Linked DNA regions of Homo sapiens: regions 1, 2, 4 and 5 are each linked to region 3. Evidence: promoter capture Hi-C in 16 types of primary human blood cells and fetal thymus (Javierre and others, 2016). All regions are on one chromosome and are shown on one strand. The core of a region is centred on a gene start or on the middle of the fragment in contact, and the rest is flanking DNA. Distances in the headings are between cores, read along the strand shown.

Region 1 (3,963 bases), core at 1,119-3,618, 1.0 Mb before region 3:
GGATCCAGCAATTCTATCCTCAGGAATATATTCAATAGAAATGAAGGCATATATGTACCAAAGACATTTACAATAATGTTGAGTGACAGAAGCCAGACACACAAGTATATACTCCATTTATCTATATAACTTAAAAACTGTCAAACTATGATGTTACTAGTTAGCAGGAGAGAAGGTATAGTGATTGGGAGAAGCATGAGGGGGTAATGTTCTATTTCTTCATCTAGGTGGTAGACAAATGGGTGTATTCATTTTGTAATAATTTTTGACCCAAACATTTGTTTTGTACATTTTTTTCTGTATGTGAATGATGTGCCAATAAAAAAAGATTTAAAAATAAAGCCAAGCTTCCTGCCCCCATGGACTTTACATTCTTCTATGAGGATCCCTGCTCTCCTCCCTGTTGACTGGCTTCAATCTAAGGCTGCAAGTGGTGGCAAAGTAGCGACCAGCAGCTCCTAGTCTACAACTTCCCACGTTCAAACAAGTAGAAGTCAAGGCATACTTGTCTTAGGAGTTCAGCAAAAGTCCCACGTTGCCTCTGACTGGCTCTAATTGGAGCATGCCTTCATCTCTGATCCAATCACCGTGGCCAGTGTGAGACTCTAATTGGCCAAGCCTGAATCACAGCCAACTCATGAAGCCAGAGTCAAATGGAGTCAGCTTCACCAGAACACGTATAATAAAAATAGGTAAAGATTCAAACAAAACAAAACTGTGGCCCTGTTTCAAAAGAGGAAATAAATATGGGTTGTAAACCCAACAAATGTCTGTAACAGATCTCCTGCAAATGAGAACCTGGATTTCCTACTTCGTGTTAAGCTAACTTCCCTTTAATTCCTTCATTTTATCACATGTCCCAGGGATTTGGCTCTTCCACTGCTATCATGATTGCAAATGGACTCTTTTCTTCTTCTCTTTGGTCACCTGAGAAATAAGGTACTCTCTCCTACTCCATCTCTATTTTTCTGACTTCGAAATAAGACAAAAACAATTAACCAGACAGATGAAAGTGAATAACAATAACAACAAAAATTTATTTAGAGTTTTAAATGTTTGTTTCTGCTAGAAACTGCATGTTAACATAAAGGCTAATAAAAATAATCAGACCTTAGAAAGTAAGTTCTATTTCTATCCCTCTTCAAAGGATCCTTTGAGATGCCTCAGGGAGTACCTCCTCTGGTCAGTTTTCTTTACCACCCCCACCCCTGATCTGAGTTATTGAACACCTCTGCCCCTGTGCTCACTCATACTATATTGTAGTTTTCTGTTTACTTATCTGCCTTACGCATTGGCTCATGTGTTCCTTGAAGGAAGGGTTTCTACCTTTATCTCTGTATTAGCACTACAAAGCTCAGTGTCTGGGACATATACAGTGAAGGGTCAGTAAATATTTTCAGAATGAGTGAGTGTTTCATATCCCAGTTATACTTAAACCTGATAGCAGCCCTGTGAGATAGAGGTGATCAACCTGAGGCTTAGAGAGGTAAGGTAGGTGACTTGCTTAAGGTCATAAATAGTAAGTAGAATCAGGATTGGAGCTCAAATCTATCTGATAAAAAGTCTGAGCCCTTGACCAGGGCTTTGGTCAAAACTGTTCATTTATTTGGAATAAGGTTCAAAATGTAGCTGGGAGTAGTTTTCCCTGATTGAATCCTACCTGCCTTTCTAACCCTTTTTGTCATTTTTCTCCTTCACGCATCTTTCCTCACAGCCCCTGAACAGACTTGGGCTTTCCTGCCTCTTTGTTTTCACTGGACTCTGTCAACTCTGCTTACTAAACTCTTACACCTTCTTCAAGGATCAGCTCAGACATCATCTCTTTTACAAAATTTTCCTTTATCACATACCCAGAAGTGACATCATCCTCCTTTGAATTGTCATATTATTTCCTGAACCATGAACATGGCATGTGTGACATACTAGCTCTGCTCAAACTATTAGTCTCCATATTAAACTACTAGATCATGCCTTGTCCTCTTTATGGCCCTTAGTATAGTGATTTGCACATAGTAGACTTTTTACAAATTTGCTGAATAAATTAATGGTGGTAGTGGTGACTTTTTGGTATGCCAACCATTTCCCCCACTGTCTAGGGCTTAGGACTGTGCAAATCATTGTTAGATCTGCCCTATTTCTTCATACCTTATAGGCTGTGATATGGTTTGGCTGTGTCCCCACCCAAGTCTCATCTTGAATTGTAGTTCCCATAATCCCCACATGTTGTGGGAGGGACCCAGTAGGAGGTAATTGAATCGTGGGGACATTTTCCCCCATGCTATTCTGATGATAGTAAGTTCTCATGAGATCTGATGATTTTATAAGAGGCTTCCCCCTTCACTTGGCTCTCATTCTTCTCTTTCCTGCTGCCATGTGAAGAAGGACGTGTTTGCTTCCCCCTTCACCATGATTGTAAGTTTTCTGAGGCCTCCCCAGCCCTGTGGAACTGTGAGTCACTTAAACCTCTTTCCTTTATAAATTACCCAGTCTCCGGCATTTCTTCATAGCAGCATGAGAACAAACTAATATAGGCTGTATTCTCTCTTGATAACCAAAGGAGTTTTATATATTCAGAACTACCAAATATCAGCTTGGCAAATTTAAGTATAAATGGGCTTTTGATAGCTGTTAACAATGGGTTTTCACAAGTAGTTGGGAGACATGGCTTTGTGAATAAGTTTTGTTTCGTTTTCATTAAGAAGGAATAGTGACTGGGACAAGAAAAAGAAGGGAATATATTCCAGGTGTTTCTAGGGGTGAGGTAATTTGGCCTGCTAACAGTAAAACCCCAAGTTAATCAGAACCCGATTAACTTGCATTAATTGGCACCTCAATTATACACACACACACACACACACACACACACACACACATACATAAAGCAGACAGAAAAAGGGAGAGAGAGAGAGAAGAGACAGAGAGAAGAGAGAAGGGGAAAGGATCTGCCCTTAATAGAGACAAATGACAACAACAAATGAAACAGCAGCAAAATAATATCAAAACAGCATCTAGCCGCATAGGTTCTGCTCTCAATAACAGCATCATTTTCAGAAACGAAGCAACTCAAAATCCTGAATCATGTGACAAGATTGAAAGATAAAAGGGCTTAACCAGAAAATTCATGTAACCAGCACATGTCATTTCCCACAAATTATGCTTAAGCAGTGTTGTATATCATATCACTATAGTCTTATAAGATTATAGTTATACATCATCACTATATCATATATCATATCACTATATAGTTATATATCACATCACTATAATCTTATAAGATTATGGTGAGCCACCTAGAAGTTGTGGGTAGGTATGACTATATAATATTCTTCAAGAAAACAACTTTGGAAAGTTATTTAAGGCTTGAATTATATTATAGCAATGAAACTAACTGGAAATATAAGGGTATTTTTAAACAGACTTGAATCTTCAATATGCAGCTGGAGCAGCAGATCCTGGTATGACTTGTTTTCTGCTAACTTGCAGGCTTCTTCAATGATCAGGTTTCAAGTTTCACTGCGGCAACTGACTCAAAGTGATTATTTAGCCTGCAAAATAGAAAAGAGTATAAAGGGACATGGTTGAAGTACTGAAAATTGCAATTACAGAGGGCACGTGAAAATTGATCTGTTCCTCCTTTTTATCTGGTTGAATACAGGAACAAGAGAATTTAAAATACATTTTAGTTTTAATGAGAATACCAGAGATGTATGATTTTATGTGGCATTTTAAGAGGATATTATTCACAATGGCAAAGGAATCATGGGGAAAAAAAGTGACAGAAGGTATATATTTTTTACTGAATAATCACACATTTTAACGTTTAGCGATAGAGTCAACAAAATCATGTTTCAGGTGGTTAGACCCCAAGAACTTTTGGGCTAACACTGAAGATTCTGCTGGAAGAACACAATGGCTAGTACAATAAGTAAGGTTGGGAGCAAATTAACATGGTGGGCAAAGTGG
Region 2 (4,071 bases), core at 1,130-3,629, 1.5 Mb before region 3:
GAGATTACAAGTGTGAGCCACCACGCCTAGCTGTGGTTAAATAATTGTATACTATAAAAAAGCATAAGATCTTGTGAGTTCCAAAGTGCCTTGGGTATCAAGAGCCAACATTCTATTTCAGAGATTTGAAACTTAATGATCCTTTAATATCTTTGCTGGATGTTGTTAGAATGGTATTTCAAACATTTTCTACAATTTGAATTAAATATTACCTTACTAAATAACGCGAGGCTGGGCAAAAAAAATGTTAAGCATAACTCCAAATATAGCATAACAGTTTAATGCTCTGTTTGTTGCCTTAACAAAAAATGAATGTCTGCAACACATTCACAAACCACCTGGAGATTCAAACTCACAGTGAAAGTGCAATGACATATTGTGCTACTTGACATTAGCTATTACCAAAGACGGTTCAAAAGGAAGAGAACACAGACAATCTTATTAGTATAATTGGAAATGTGCTGATATACCCACCTTACCAAACATCTTCTCTTGCAGTGTATTATATTACCTGAGAAAAGTAACTTACAATCAGTGCTAATATGCTCCTTAACCTGATTTACAAGGGCAACTAGCAATAAACAGAACAAGGCCCGTGAACTACCACACAGGTGACTTCAATTCTGTATATCTGGACTGGATGGGAATACGGGGGCTTACATGTTTGTGGCCTTCTTGGAGTATGGGAATGTCCTGTCCTGCTATAGGACTGCAGTGAGAATTCTGGTTATAAAAAGTCTCCCTTGTAAAATTCACTGTAAATCGAGGACAAAAATCATGAGATTGTTTTGTTATACTTTAAGTTCTAGGGTACATGTGCACAACGTGCAAGTTTGTTACATATGTACGTATACATGCCATGTTGGTGTACTGCACCCATTAACTCGTCATTTACATTAGGTAAAATCATGATATTTTTAAGGACAACAACATGGAAAAATCTTTCTGTTAGCAGCTAGTAGAAGAATTCATTTAGGAGGATAATGGAAGAAATTTTTCGTAACTGCTCAGAGTAAAAAGTAAAACTCAGAGAACCTAGGTTTGAGAATAATGCACACCTACTAATTCAGGACTAGACACATAAATTTGAGAGTTTTTGACATTAAAAGTAGCATTTGAAGTGATGCAACTTATGAATTAGCTCACTGAGGGATTTAGTATAGACAGAGAATACAGGCACCCCAATGTTAAGAGATCACAACTAAAAAAAATTTAGAAACTCCGCAGAACTGAGAACCAGTAACAAAAGAGGAAAACCAGGAAAGTATGTTGTCTGAGAGCCAAATGAATAAAGAGATACAAGGAGAGTCATTCAGGTATGATATTAATAAATGCTAAAAGTAAAGCATTACATTTCTTTCCAAAAATAGCAAATCCTCCAAACTGAAATAGAGAAAAATTGAAAGATATTACTTGGCATTCATTTATCAGTGACAGAGAAAAAACGGAAGTTCTAACAATGTTATCTAATAGAGATGTTTTATTCATTTTCATTACGTATATGCTGTGTATGCTACTCCCGAGCATCATATCTTCCTTTTAACATCCACAAGAAACAAGCTTTCAAAAAGCACAGCAATTCTCTTGGCAGCATTAATTTTAAAGAGAACCTCTTAAGTTGTTTTACCAGCTGAGACTGACTGACTAAACAACCAGTGTCTCCCCTTCAGTCGCCAGTCTTTCCTTAGAAATGCCTGTTTGGCATAACTTTAAGACTCAAGATGGTTTAAGGCGCATCCTGTTTCTTCCAAAAGGGAATGGACAAAACTCAACATTCACGGAGGGCTTAGAGCAAATTAGAACCGTATACTGTGACCTCCTGGAAGGGAGAGGCTCACCTCCTACAAAGTAAATGCTCAATAAATATTTTTGATATAACTCTGGAAGAGCTCCATTTGGGGTCGGGGGTGCACCTACTCCAGGGCACCACCCCCTCCAAAATAGCTGCATTCCCACAGCCCTCATACTCCGCTCAGAAAAGGGACCGGCGAGCTTGCAGGCATCCGCACAGCGGATAAAAGCAAAGCGGGACGGCGCACCAACCGCATTCCGGATCCTAAGGTTAAAAGAAAACCCCTTGCCCTCGGGCCAGGGCTCACCTGTCTCGGGAGTGGGGAAGAAGCGCGACTCCCGGCCGCTTTGGAGTAGGCGTCCCAGCAAAACTCTCGCCTCATCACCAGACACTACCCCGGGCAGAAGGTTCCTAGGCTAGGTCCTCGGACCCGAGAGGGAGCGACACGCTCGCTTGGTCTCTTGGGTCTCCAGGACGCCGCCGCCGCCGCCACAGTTTCCTCAGGTGCTACAAAGCAGCCAGGGTGTGCGTGCGCTCCCGCCTCGTCGCTTAGCAACCTGAGAAGCTGTCCGGTCGTCCCAACTTATCAATTCCCCCGCCCCTCCAGAGTGTCAATCGTTTTTTAAAAGATTTTGTTTCCGGGTCGATCCAGCTTTACGCAGCGGAAGGTCTCTTTACCTCCCACGTTTACCCTCATGGGAGGATGCAGTCTCAGTCACGCGCGTGGGGGTGATGTCGCTAAGGGGTGATTCTCCCCTCCCTAGAGTTACACACGCTATCTCTCCCGCCAATTGCCGGGCTCCATCAGGCAGGTCCTTTCCTCCTGAGCCCAAACCATCCGTTTGTTGTCGTCCTCCAATCACAGGGGCTCATCCTCAGGGACTACTTTGCAATCGGCGCAGAGCGCAGTGAGAAGAGCTTGAAAAAAACCTCTGGTATCGGGAAGTGTAGTTCAACACTTGAAGGAAATGCTTTGGAGATTGCGCCACAACCAGGGCAGCGTAAACTACAGTTCCCAGAGAGCGCCGCGTCGGGAGCGGAGCCTTTTCTCGCTAACACCGCTCGCCCTCTCCGAGTCAGTTCCGCGGTAGAGGTGACCTGACTCTCTGAGGCTCATTTTGCAGTTGTTGAAATTGTCCCCGCAGTTTTCAATCATGGTGAGTGTGGGCCCCGGGTTCCTGCCCACCTCTGGCCCTCGCGCCCTTGAGTGGGGTTTCTTGCACTTTAGGGACTTTTGGGAGGCAGCTGTGCAAGGCACTGTCCTTCGCGCCCTTTGGCAAGCTCGGACTCATCTTCTGGGGATTGCCGCAGTGACCCAGTAATGGGAAGGGATTGATTTCCACCTTGCGGGGTATGGGGCGCTCTTAGGAGGACTCTGGAGAAGTAGTTGTCCTGGGAGAGGAGCGATCTTAATCCTGCTGCATGACGGGAGGACAAAATGCGACGCTGCAGCTATTTTCCAAAGGACGTTACGGTGTTTGATAAGGACGATAAGGTTTGCGATGGGAGGGAAAGGTTGGGTCCTAACCCCTTTTTCTCCTCATTTGCCCACAGTGTTTATAACGGCTTTTGTCACAGGGACCTTGAAAGCAAAAAGCTGGAAAGGTAGTATTTACCAGGTGCTCCAGATTACGATCTGCGTTTGCAGCAGACGTGTTTCCGCCATATCTAATTTCTCAAAATGTTATTTGGAACCCGTTCATTGACCTTTTTTGTAATGCCAGGATATATTGAAGTGACAGCATCACTAACTAAATAACTACTGCAAATATTCTTTATTGAACTGTATATTGTGAATTCCAGAAGCACCTCTCTTAAATGTAACAGAGTAACCATTTTGTCATGGAAGACCTGGGTAACCTGCATCTCCATCGCTTGTCTCTGCTGAAAGAGAGGGGGAGGGGGAGAGTTGGTGAAGGAACTCTGGCGTAGGAATAATCTGCGTACTGCTTGAAGGTGACATTTGTCATCAAACTCAGAGAAATCGCTTCATACTATCAATACAATGGCTTGTATTTATAGTTGCGACTGTTTTTCCTACTTTATCTGCAAAATACTAAAACGGCTGGAGAATGTGGAGAAATGTTTGAATGAATTGGAAATTTCCCAGAACCTGAAAAGACACGTTTTCAAGGCAAGGGCATTACTCTCTCTGCCTGTCTAACGGGGCCAGTGGAGACAGCTACTAATTTCCAGTAGGTGTTAAACCTAGGTTTCCTAAATGTTTTGTCACATAATTAGTCATTTAAATTATGGTTTCGGTAGTTTCTGTCCTAATA
Region 3 (3,934 bases), core at 325-2,824:
TCCTTCATCCTATCCCCTCTCTTTATAGATGAGGAAACCATACAGGATATGTACGCCTGTTTGGACTTTGTACAGTTCTCTGTCCAGCAGGGGTGACTTGGCTGTGGGATTAGGTGACTCCACTGGAGGTCTTCTGTGTATAGAAAAGATCAAGGGTCACAAACACAAATGCCTTCAGGTAGGCAGCAAATGTGTGAAGGCTGGCTGTTACTTAATGGACCAGTGGTGGTGGTGGGATTCAAATTCTTATTAAAAAACAAAAGCAAACAAACAAAGAAAAGCTATGCGATGCCCAAATAAAACCATCTGTGGGCTAGCTGCTGCTGTTGTCCAAAGTTTGTGGCCCCTGGGTTAGACAAAACCTCTGAGCTGTCCTGACAGGTCTGGGAAAACCAAACAAGTCCTTGTCTCCTAAACTACCTGGGACTCAAGAGCTCTGTAGGAAAAAATTTGTACCCTGCACCCAGCTGGGGTTGACATTTACAGACGCCTGTTTTATGAACTGGGGAGATATTCAGTTGAAGCCAGATTGCTGAAAGTGCTGCTGAGAGAAAATCATCAGAAGGGAGGGCCTCTTCCCCACGCCACCCTGGTGGTAGTTCCTCTATGCCTCCGGATTCTGCTAAGCAGTAAAAGCTAAAGGGCAGTGTCATTAAGCTCCTAGGGGATGGGATGCAGTGGCTCACACCTGTAATTCCAGCACTTTGGGAGGCCGAGGCGGGAGGATCGTCTGAGTCCAGGAGTTCAAGCCCAGCCTGGGCAACACAGCAAGACCCCATCTTTGCAAAATAGATAGATAGATAGAGATGTATGAAAGTTACTAGGTCCCATGCTGGCAGGGGAGAGAGTGAGCACCCTGGCCTCCCACAAGCTGCCTCCCACTTCCCTCCGACTCCATCACCGATTTCCCATCAGAGCAGGCTGCTCAGAGTGGCTAAGTAGCTACCAGTTCATTTTCCACACCCTTCCCATTCTCCACGAGCCAGAGCTCCACCTCCCCCCAGAAGCTGTCTTCAACCACCCGGCCTGGGGAGCTCCCCTCAGCACTGGCTCCCCGCCCCGCCTCGCAGCACCTGTTCGGGCCTCGGTCGCGCCGCCGGGTCTTGCAGACGCGAATGTAAACAGAAACACAGTGAAAGGCGTTCGGAGAGCCTCGTGACTGCGGCACGGCGGCGAGCCGGGAACATCAGTGCGTCCAGAGCAAAATGAACGAATGTACGCATGACTCCTGGAGCGACCTTCACGAGGGAAAGCGCGCCCCCCGGCACCCACCCCTAAGCGCCCCAAAATGACCAGCCTTTACACAACCCAGCTCGCAGGCGAAGCTGAGGTCGGAGCTCCAAAAGCGAGGGAGGACAGCCGCTGAAGAAGTCCCGGCTTCCCATAGGCCAGGACGAAGTAGGGGGCGGGCTCATCTTGCAGGAGCGTCCACGTATTGGTGGAGCCGCGGACTTAGAGCTGCGATTCGCTGCGCGAAATTGCCGAAAGCCCTCCCGCGGAGGGAGAAGGGGCGGGAAGAAGGGCGTGGTCAGCGCGGCCGAAGGGCGTGGTTGGCGCTCGGTCCTGCCCTGCGCGTTTTGGGCTGCGGTTGGAGGGCCGCAGTTGCAGTCAGGGTCCGCCAGCTCGGGGCCAGCGCATGGGGCTGCTGAGACCGCTCCGGACGTGCGAAGCGTTCGCGGTGCGGTAGGTAGGCAGTGTCCCGCGTGCGGGTGCTGGTGTCGGGGGTGCCGCGGCGCTGGGGGCGGTGGCCCGGGCTAGATCCGCGCGCGCGCCCGGCCCCCTCCCCCGCGTCTCTTCGGTGCCTGCGGGGCCCTTGCGGTGCGGGCCGTCTGGCCTCGCGTCCCCGCCGGCAAGGGCACAAAGGCTCCCTGGGGGGCGGGGGCGCCTCGTGCCTTCGCCTCCATCTTGCGAGCGGAACGGCGTGTGCTGTGGCGGCCGAGGGGTCGGGGCCGAGGCGGGCGGCTGGGCTTGGGAATGCCCGGGCGCGGCGAGGGAGTGCGCGAGTCCGCGCATCTGGCGGCCGAGCAGCTGCGCCGCTGGTCGGCCTGGGCCCCGGGGGAGGTCACTTTCCCTCAGGCCTCTCCCGGGCGTGGGCTGTTTACCCAGCTCCCCAGTCGGGGCTAATGCAGCTCGGGCCTTTCCCCCTGGAAAGATGGAGACCAGTGATGTCTTCTTATCGCCGCGCCCAGATGCGGAGAGAAAAAATCAAGATGTCTCATTTTTTTTGCCTCGGAGGGCTACCCTTTCTAACTGTCATCACTAGAACAGTTCTCAGCAGCCTGGGGACGAATGTCCAAAACCTGTTCCAGGCCCTTGATGATTAGTAGGTTGGGTTTAGTGTATTGTTTGTAACAAAAATGAGCGGAAGCCTGCCAGGGCAGATTGGACCTCACTGGGAATTCATCAGGACCACGAAGGGAGGTAGCGTTTGTAAATAATCTAACAGTTCTCAGATCTAGGGTATGAAGAGTGTTGTGTTAAAGTGTGTAACAAAGGTTGTTGGGTCAGTTTGCCTTGGGTTTAGTTGAAAGATCTAGAAGTCACCACTTTTTACTTTGTTCCCTCCATTCCCCTTTCCCACCCTCTGTTGAGTCAATTCTGGCCCACTTAGAAAACAACAACAACAAAAAACCCAAGGAATTCAGTTTAACCTCTTTTGCGCAAAGCTTTTTAAAGCACTTCCCCACCCTGCGACTGATAACTCCTCCCTTTTTTGGGCTACCTTCTGCAGCCTCTGTTTTTACTCATCACACTGTATTGTGGTTTCCCCAGCCCCTAGCACAATGCTTGGAACATAAAAGGCACTCAATGATGGAAGGAAGCCAAAAGGAAACAAAATCAGCGTGGTAGTCTAAAGGTGACACAACAGAAACATTTATTTAACTTCTTGAGCGAGTTATTCTTACAGGTTAGGAAGGCAGCTAAGCTCAGGCTCTCTAAGTCAAACAGGCTTTAGCTCTGCCATGTTACTAACTCTGATTAATTTTTTTTTTAATGGTGATGGGGGTCTTGCCATGTTGTCCAGGCTGGTCTTGAACTCCTGGGCTCAAGCAATCCTCCTGCCTCTGCCTCCCAGAGTGCTGGGATTACAGGCGTGTCATTAAGTTATTTAACTTCTCCGTGCCTTGGTTTCCTCATCCTTAAAAATGGGAATAATAGTAGTACCTGTGTGGTGAGTTATTAGGATTAAATAAGATATTGATGTATAGTGCCTAATATAGTTCCTGGCACAAAGAAAATGATCAGTAGCTGTTAGCTGTTAGCAGTCGTTAGGAGAAAAATAAATGGATACTTGAATACACTCACCAATATGAAATATCTGTATAGTACTTGACCCTTCAGGATCTCTCTGTTTTTTGGTCCTTATCCGATCCCTTTTTTTGAGACAGGGTCTCACTCCATCACCCAGGCTGGAGTACAGTGGCATGATCTCAACTCACTGTGGCCTCAACCTCCTGGGGTCGAGTCCCTCTCACCTCAGCCTCCCAAGTAGCTGGGATCACAGGTGCACATCACCAGGCCCAGCTAATTTTCTATTTTGTTGTAGAGATGACGTCTCTCTATATTGCCCAGGCTTGTCTTGAACTCCTGGGCTCAAGCGATTACTGGCATGAGCCACGGTGCCTGACACCTTATCCGATGGCTGATTTTTTTCCTTTTTTTTTTTTTTTTTTTTTTTTTTGAGAGGGAGTTTCACTCTTCTTGGCCAGGCTGGAGTGCAATGGCACAGTCTCAGCTCACTGCAACCTCTTCCTCCCGGGTTCAAGCAATTCTCCTACCTCAGCCTTCCGAGTAGCTAGGATTACAGGCACCCACCACCGTGTTCCGCTAATTTTTGTATTTTTGGTAGAGACAGGGTTTCGCCATGTTGTCCAGCCTGGTCTTGAACTCCTGACCTCAGGTGATCCACCCACTTCAGCCTCCCAAAGTGCTG
Region 4 (3,693 bases), core at 879-3,378, 1.2 Mb before region 3:
TGATTTCGTAGACATCGGATATTTTTCGTTAGCAGCTGAAGTGCCCTTTTTGTGGCATCCAAAGTAGTTTTGGTCTGACTGATCCAACAATGCATGCATGTTTTATAAATTAAAGCTTCATCATTATTTTAAAGTACTTTCTAGAAAAAAGTACTGCTATTCATTATTGGCATTTTGGTACTATCTGGATTTTTTTTTTAAGCTGTGTATTCTTACTGAAATTTAAAAAAAAAATTGAAGTGCAATTTAAAATGGCACCAGAAGCCAGGCGTCATGGCTCAAACTTGTAATCCCAGCACTTTGGGAGGCCGAGGTGGGCGGATCACTTGAGGTCAGGAGTTTGAGACCAGCCTGGCCAACATGGTGAAACCCTGTCTCTACCAAAAAAAATACAAAAATTAGCCAGGTGAGGTGGCAGGCCCCTGTAATCCCAGCTACTTGGGAGACTGAGGCAGGAGAATTGCTTGAACCTGGGAGGCAGAGGTTGCAGTGAGCAGAGACTGCACCACTTCACTCCAGCCTGGGTGACAGAGCGAGACTCCATCTCAAAAAAAAAAAAAAAAAAAAAAAGAAGAAAACAGTATTACTAGAGAACTTCAGTCATTAAGAGATTACTTGTCCCGGATAAAGGCCTGACCATTTGCACTCCTTTCTGTTTTGATGGAGAGGGGTAGCAAATCAACCTCCAGAAACCGAAGGGAGAAAATTTTCCTCCCTGTGGGTTTTTGGAGTCAGATAGCTTCAGTTCAGATCCTGGTTCTGTCACATAGTAGCTATGTGATCTAAAAAAAAAAATTAAATAAAAAAAATAATAAAATGGCACCAGAACTTAACATTAGTATTTCATATTTTTTCCTGTAGTTTTTTCTCTAAATATGACATACCTCCTCTTTTTCATTAGAGAGAAAAAGTAGTTACCTTTTATTCTCTAATCATATTATCCATCTAATGACATAGAATTATTCAATTATTTAATCTTCACCCAAAAAGCAGTCCTGAGAATCTTCTCTTTATTTTATTTTTATTTTTTGAGACAAAGTCTTGTTCTGTAGCCCAGGCTGGAGTGCAGTGGCGTGACCTCAGCTCACTGCAAACTCCGCCTCCCATGTTCAAGTGAGTTTTGTGCCTTAGCCTCCCAAGTAGCTAGGATTACAGGCGCCTGCCACCAAGCCCAGCTAATTTTTGTATTTTAGTAGAGAAGGGGGTTTAATCACGTTGGCCAGGCTGCTCTCAAACTCCTGACCTCAGATGATCCACCAGCTTTGGCCTCCCAAAGTGCTGGAATTACAGCTGTGAGCCATTGCACCCAGCTGAGAATCTTCTCTTTAATATTTCGTTAGGTTGGTGGGTGTGAAATGCTTAAAATACATTCCCTGAGACTAAGTTAGGAAACAGAAGTTCTTTATCCTTTCCTTTCCAGTGGTGGCACTAGCAGGAAATTTAATAAACTAGACCAGAGGCAGAGATGTTTAGAAAACCATCAAAAGTCATTTGATGGAATGCACAACAGGGAATCTTTCATATAGTTGAAAGAGGCAGAAAAAATAGAATTAAACTGAATGCTTTTCTCTTTCACAACTCTTCTCTGTGAGGATTTGAAAGTCAATAAGTAACCTGAACTTCTATACATATATCACTACAGTAAATCAAAATAATATTTATTCTATGAGTTTGGTAAAAGATGGTTTCTTATTAGTTTTTTTATCTTTTCAAATTATAATCACATAACAATCTACGCTTGTTAAAAACCCTGAGAGAATATAGGGAGTTTATTTATGTTTTTTCCTGGGCCATTCACTAAAGGGAATGGCTCTATTGCCTCTATCATCAAAGGGGCGGACACAATTTGGAGATACAGTTTTGCACATGAGAGAAATACAACAACCTCATGGGTGTCACCATTTCTCACCAACACTCTCCTCTGGGGAACATGCAGAACAGACTAAACAGAAAACAAAATAGTAAGGACCTGCTTCCTTCAACTTTCAAAGGAGAATCTAGAGGGGAATTATTGATAAACATGAACAAGATAATGTATGTTTTGATTAAACATGCTTGGGAGCCTAATGACTTTTAAAACCACTTAGAAGATTGGTTTATGAACCTTTAATTAACTATCCATAATGTGAACTAACTTCATTTTTTAAAGCATCTCAGTTATTTGAAATAATTGCTACTGCTCTGATGTAAAAGTTATATAACTCTCAAATATAACTTAAAAATCATACTGTGAACAAATGGAAGGATATGTCATAATTTAAATTCACAACTTGTTTCAGCAAACTTCCTGGTTCATTAACAGGGTGTTGGCAACAGGAAAGAATGAAGTCTTTCTCTTCCTCAAGTATTTGGAAACCCATTCATTTTTAGACAACTCATTCATTAGTAGTCCATCTCATAGATATAATTTGATATCTTTTTCCAGTTAAGCCCGTTTGGTTACCTTTTTACTCAAGTGAAATGCCCTATTGTTAGATGTAGTCAGTTACTGGCAACTGCTGACTGAGTAACAGTAGCCCCTTTTTCCTCTCTCATGTGGGTGGCCTAGGATTTAGATGGGTACAGATGGGAGCCAATATTGAGTATGGGCAACAGTCCAGTGGATAACTGTTGCCTGGTCTCTTGGCTAAACACTTTGGGCATGACACAGAAATTTTTATGTCTAGTACATGTTCGCTCAAACTACACTGCTTTATTTTCTTGAATGTAGAGGATAGGCAAGAAAAAATAAAGGACCACACACATTGATGATCTGTATACTTATTTCATACCTTTAACAATTCCTACACCACTCCTTATTAGATAATGCTCATGGGTAGTTAACACAGCTTATTGTAAAGTCATCAGGGCATTTGCTGCTATTATTCTTATAATTTGGCCCAGGTTCATCTCCTAGGTGGAAATAACTGAAACTTAAAAAACGTTATCTCTAAATATAAACTTTTTATGTTTTATATGGCTCTCAAAGAGCAGAGAGTAGGGGCGGGCCTGTGGCTTACGCCTGTAATTCCAGCACTTGAGGAGTCTGAGGCAGGAGGATTACCTGAGGTCAGGAGTTTGAGACAAGCCTGGCCAACACGCCGAAACCCTGTCTCTACTAAAAATACAAAAACTAGCCAGGTGGGGACCTGTAATCCTGGCTACTCAGGAGGCTGAGGCAGGAGAATCCAGCTACTCAGGAGGTGGAGGTTGCATTGAGCCGAGATCGCACCACTGCACTCCAGCCTGGGTGACAGAGCGAAACTCTATCTCAAAGAAAAAAAAAAAGAGTGGAGAGTAGGATACAACACTGTGAGTTAAAATGATTTAGTGGCACTAAACTGGTCATTCAATATATACTTATGGAATGTTCGCTATGTACCAGACACTGTGCCAAGCATTAAATCTAAAAAGGCACCAAAAAAGATGCTTAGAAATAGGACCACAGACATGGTTTCCTTGCTGTTGATAGAGAGCTCCTGTCTAAAGCAAAGGAAAAAGATATGGTGAGGTTGTTATACATCCTAGGATATGGGACTGGGTAAACCAAACTGAGTTTCCTCAAGTTTCTATGGGAAAGTAGAAAGAAGGAAGAAATTATAGGCAGAATTTGTATCATCCGTGGATGGTCGCATATGGAACCAGACAAAAACTGGCTTCCAGGCTTTCTTTCTAATTCACAATCCATTTCACTCCAGCTCCTTAACCCTGTAC
Region 5 (3,782 bases), core at 353-2,852, 1.0 Mb before region 3:
GCGCGGTGGCTCACACCTGTAATCCCAACACTTTGGAAGGCCGAGGCAGGTAGATCACAAGGTCAGGAGTTCGAGACCAGTCTGACCAACATGGCGAAACCCTGTCTCCACTTAAAATACAAAAATTTGCTGGGCGTAGTGACACGCCAGAAAGATGAAAAATAATTTTAAAAGAAATCTAGAAGGAAATGAGATTTTACAAATGGTGAGCAGGCTTACAACCCCTATTTCTTCAGTTAAATTCTCACATCTGAAGAATAATTACCTTCAGATAATAGAAAAACCCTTCAAATACACAGGAAGGCAGGCATAGTAAATGAAGACAAAAGGATTATTCCCCAAAAGGGAATTAATCCAAATAACGACAGCATACTCTTAAAAACACTAAAACTTTTTGAATAAGTCACTTCCAAAAATTTTAACTCTGAAGTAAAATATATATATTTTCAAGTCTTCTCAAATAGCATATTTGAAAACAAGGTAATCTTTTCTTAATAAGTTAATTTCACCATTATAATAATCAGTTATTTTACTGTGCTATAACGGTGATACTCTCAGGTGCTACAGAAGGAAGTCAGTTTGCCCCTATATTAAGGAGTTTCAGATTATAGTGATATACTAGTTATTTTACTAGTTTGTTATCAATATTTGTATTTAGTGCTTCTCTCCTCCCTAGAGAGGCTGTCAGCCATCACTATTCTCCGCCTTACTATCTACATTCCTGCCTTTGACAACCTCTATATTCCTTCCTAATTTGATTCTTCTGAAGCGAATAACTCTTCTACAGTATATTATAGTTGACACTGCATCTTAATACATATTACCTCATTTAATAATTCTTACAATAGCCTTGTAATACATGGATTATCACTACCCCTATTTTATAGATGAGAAAACTGAGGCTCAGAAAGAATAACTTGAGTAACTTATCCATAAGGTATGGATGATAAATAGCAAAAGTGATCTCAACTGTCAATTACCTTCTTTCATCAACAAATTAAGCTTGTTAAAAACATTAAATAGTCTAAAGTGGAGCTCATAGGGGAAAAAAAGATTCATTATAAGCTTGGAATTTTTCTGGACATTCACAACATACATACATACATACATAACATAAGTGTTATACATACATATATAACATAAGTGTTATCCATAAAGTTAAACACTTAGCTTACTTCTCCTTTCTTGGTAGTTGAAGCTGCCAGGAAAAAAAAAAATCACTTCTGGATAAAAAAGATATGACTATATTCTATTTACAATTTCAAAAACATATGCAAAAATAACAATTCAAAACAATAGTAGTCCAAATTTGCAGTAAATTAAGTCTGTTTTTAGAAAAAAAGGGGTTCTTTTTTCAGATTTGAAGACAACCTAAACATACGAAACAGTATCTGCGTCATGTCGTAAACAGATTTCCTTTTATTTTTCCCTCAATTCCTCCTCTTGCAAAGAAATAGAGTTAGTTGCTAGAGGATCTAAGGTGTTAATCTAATTCACCAAACATCGCCCACTGAGACTATTCTCCCACCTGGTAGGAATCAAAAACACTAGGTCCTTACCAGAAATCGTGCAGCCCCTAGGTTTACAATGGTACCATTGACATTTTGAACCGGATAATTTCTTGCAGAAGTATGTCCTGTGCATTGTAGGGTATTTAGCAACATCCTTGGCCAATACCATTTCCTTCAGCTATGACAACCAAAAATGTCTCTAGACACTGCCAAATTTCCCTTGGAGTCAAAACCGTCCTCGCAGAGCCATTGTTTTAGATGTTAGGGCACTGGATATTTGAAAAAGGAAACCTCCAACTGGCCCTGTTAATTATATTTTTTTAAAATTTGGATTTAAAAAAATAAGACATTAATAGTATAAGAAGATATCTAAATAATACATTTGCTACCCTTCCTTAGGTTAAAGCATTTTTAGAGGATTTTGTAACATGGGTTTCATCAATGTAGCTACATATAGTCACCCACTTTTCCCCCAAAGTTGGGGGAATGTCCAGTTCTTTCTCAGCTCTGCTAGCAAAATGTCAAATACATACATATATACAAGAATCTAAACAATTCTAACTTCCAAAGTCCCATTTCTTGCTTTACATGGCCACGCTGTGGTTCTTGAGCCACACATCCTAGAGATTCAAGCTTCTAATCTCCATGTTTCCTCATCTGGTTGCTGCCAACTAATAGCGAGGTAAGCAGGAAGTAAGCTGATGACCTTTAAGATCTTTTCCCTGATATTCTAATATTCAATGACAAAAATGCCCACTTTTACTTATTGATTCCGAGCTGACCAAACTACCTCTTGAGGTTACTGAAGCCATTCATGCCTTCTCCAACTTTATGCTGAATACAACCAAAAAGTGTATCAGTTATTTACAACATCACTTTTAATATTGGTGATCAGTTGCTTATTCCCTAGCTCAAATAAAAAATTTTAACATGTACACTGATTTTAAAGGAAAAGCTTTTCAAGAAGCTATGAGCCAAGAAGCATTATATGAAAGGCCCACATTAGGCCAATATTGAGACAGAAAGTAGACTAGTGGTTGCCTAAAGCTGGGGGTGGGGTGAAGAGAATGGGGAGTAACTGTTAATGGATAAAGGTTTTTTGAGGGAATGATGAAAATGTTCTAAAATTAGATTATGGTGATGGTTGCACAATTATTTAATCTAAAAACCACTGAATTGTATATTTTTTTTTTTTTTTTGAGATGGAGTCTCGTTCTGTCACCCAGCCTGTAGTGCAGTGGTGCTATCTTGGCTCACTGCAACCTCCACCTCCCAGGTTCAAGCGATTCGCCAGCCTCAGCCTCCCCAGTAGCTGGGATGACAGGCGCTCACCCCCATGCCCGGCTAATTTATATATTTTTAGTACAGACGGGGTTTCACCATGTTGGCTAGGCTGGTCTCGAACTCTGGACCTCAGGTGATCTACCTGACTAGGCTTCCCAAAGTGGTGGGATTACAGGTGTGAGCCACTGAACCCGGCCAAGTGGTACACCTTAAATGGGTGTATTTTATGGTATGTTAATTTTATCTCAATAAAGCAGTTTTTAAAAAGCAAAGAGCAGGAAAGAGGAATTGTAATTAACTTTTGTTGATTAAAAAAAAAAAAAAAAAAAAAAAGAGTGTGATGGGCCGGGGCCGGGGCGGTGGCTCACACCTCTAATCCCAGCACTCTGGGAGGCCGAGGCCGGTGGATCACAAGGTCAGGAGTTCAAGACCAGCCTGGCTAATATGGTGAAACCCCCGTCTCTACTAAAAATACAAAAATCAGCCAGGCGTGGGGGCGCCTGTAGTCCCAGCTACTCAGGAGACTGAGGCAGAAGAATCACTTGAAGCCGGTAGGCGGAGGTTGCGGTGAGCCAAGATAGCGCCACTGCACTCCAGCCTGGGCAACAGAGCAAGACCCCGTCTCAAAAAAAAAAAAAGAAAAGAAACAAAAAAAAAGAGTGTGATGAAGAAATTCTGCAAAATTTGCCGTTTCATGGGCTATATAGGAATTGACTTTAATTCTGACACAAAAAATTATCTTATCCAGAAATCAATTTTAACTTTCCAGAAAATATAAGCATATGCAAAAGTAATCACCTTTTCCTAGTAAACTTTTAGTATTAAATTCTAATTTCAAAAACACTTCAGAAAGCCAAATGCTGTAGTAACAATACTTCTACAAGAACAAAATATACGAATATCAACAACAAAACAGTCTTTACGATTTGGTTGTGATGCATTCTTTATTTTAAAAACCCATTAAAACATTTTTCATTTATTTAAAAA

The links. Contacts are between HindIII fragments. The CHiCAGO score rates a contact against its expected background, and 5 or more counts as called.
Region 1: a contact is called between a fragment that was not itself captured here and the fragment with the promoter of CEP68 in region 3, in 3 of 17 cell types (activated CD4 T cells, total CD4 T cells and naive CD8 T cells). The highest score is 6.7, in activated CD4 T cells.
Region 2: a contact is called between the fragment with the promoter of WDPCP here and the fragment with the promoter of CEP68 in region 3, in 5 of 17 cell types (total CD4 T cells, naive CD8 T cells, naive CD4 T cells and 2 more). The highest score is 11.7, in total CD4 T cells.
Region 4: a fragment that was not itself captured here is called in contact with the fragment with the promoter of CEP68 in region 3 in 1 of 17 cell types (activated CD4 T cells); the score reaches 6.4 in activated CD4 T cells.
Region 5: a fragment that was not itself captured here is called in contact with the fragment with the promoter of CEP68 in region 3 in 2 of 17 cell types (activated CD4 T cells and naive B cells); the score reaches 5.6 in activated CD4 T cells.

Annotation. Positions count from the first base shown.
Region 1 is chr2:64,032,252-64,036,214 of GRCh38, forward strand. No RefSeq gene overlaps it. Among named protein-coding and RNA genes, the nearest start is that of VPS54, 15 kb to the left of the region's middle. The HindIII fragment of the contact is 4,046 bases long and covers 346-3,963 here.
Region 2 is chr2:63,586,098-63,590,168 of GRCh38, forward strand. It overlaps WDPCP (WD repeat containing planar cell polarity effector), which reads right to left and starts at 2,380. Exons shown (of 18, transcript NM_015910.7): 1 at 2,100-2,380. The coding sequence starts at 2,174. MDH1 (malate dehydrogenase 1) reads left to right here and starts at 2,866. Exons shown (of 9, transcript NM_005917.4): 1 at 2,866-2,949. The coding sequence starts at 2,947. RefSeq lists enhancers at 1,545-2,065, 2,577-2,896. The HindIII fragment of the contact is 5,833 bases long and covers 1,559-4,071 here.
Region 3 is chr2:65,054,842-65,058,775 of GRCh38, forward strand. It overlaps CEP68 (centrosomal protein 68), which reads left to right and starts at 1,575. Exons shown (of 7, transcript NM_015147.3): 1 at 1,575-1,687. RefSeq lists an enhancer at 1,168-1,407 and silencers at 1,508-1,617, 1,698-2,037, 2,668-2,717, 2,728-2,807. The HindIII fragment of the contact is 3,790 bases long and covers 1-2,664 here.
Region 4 is chr2:63,834,843-63,838,535 of GRCh38, forward strand. It overlaps a transcript of WDPCP not described here. Among named protein-coding and RNA genes, the nearest start is that of UGP2, 5.2 kb to the right of the region's middle. The HindIII fragment of the contact is 4,031 bases long and covers 114-3,693 here.
Region 5 is chr2:64,013,917-64,017,698 of GRCh38, forward strand. All of the region lies in intron 1 of VPS54 (VPS54 subunit of GARP complex), which reads right to left. Among named protein-coding and RNA genes, the nearest start is that of VPS54, 3.6 kb to the right of the region's middle. The HindIII fragment of the contact is 1,079 bases long and covers 1,064-2,142 here.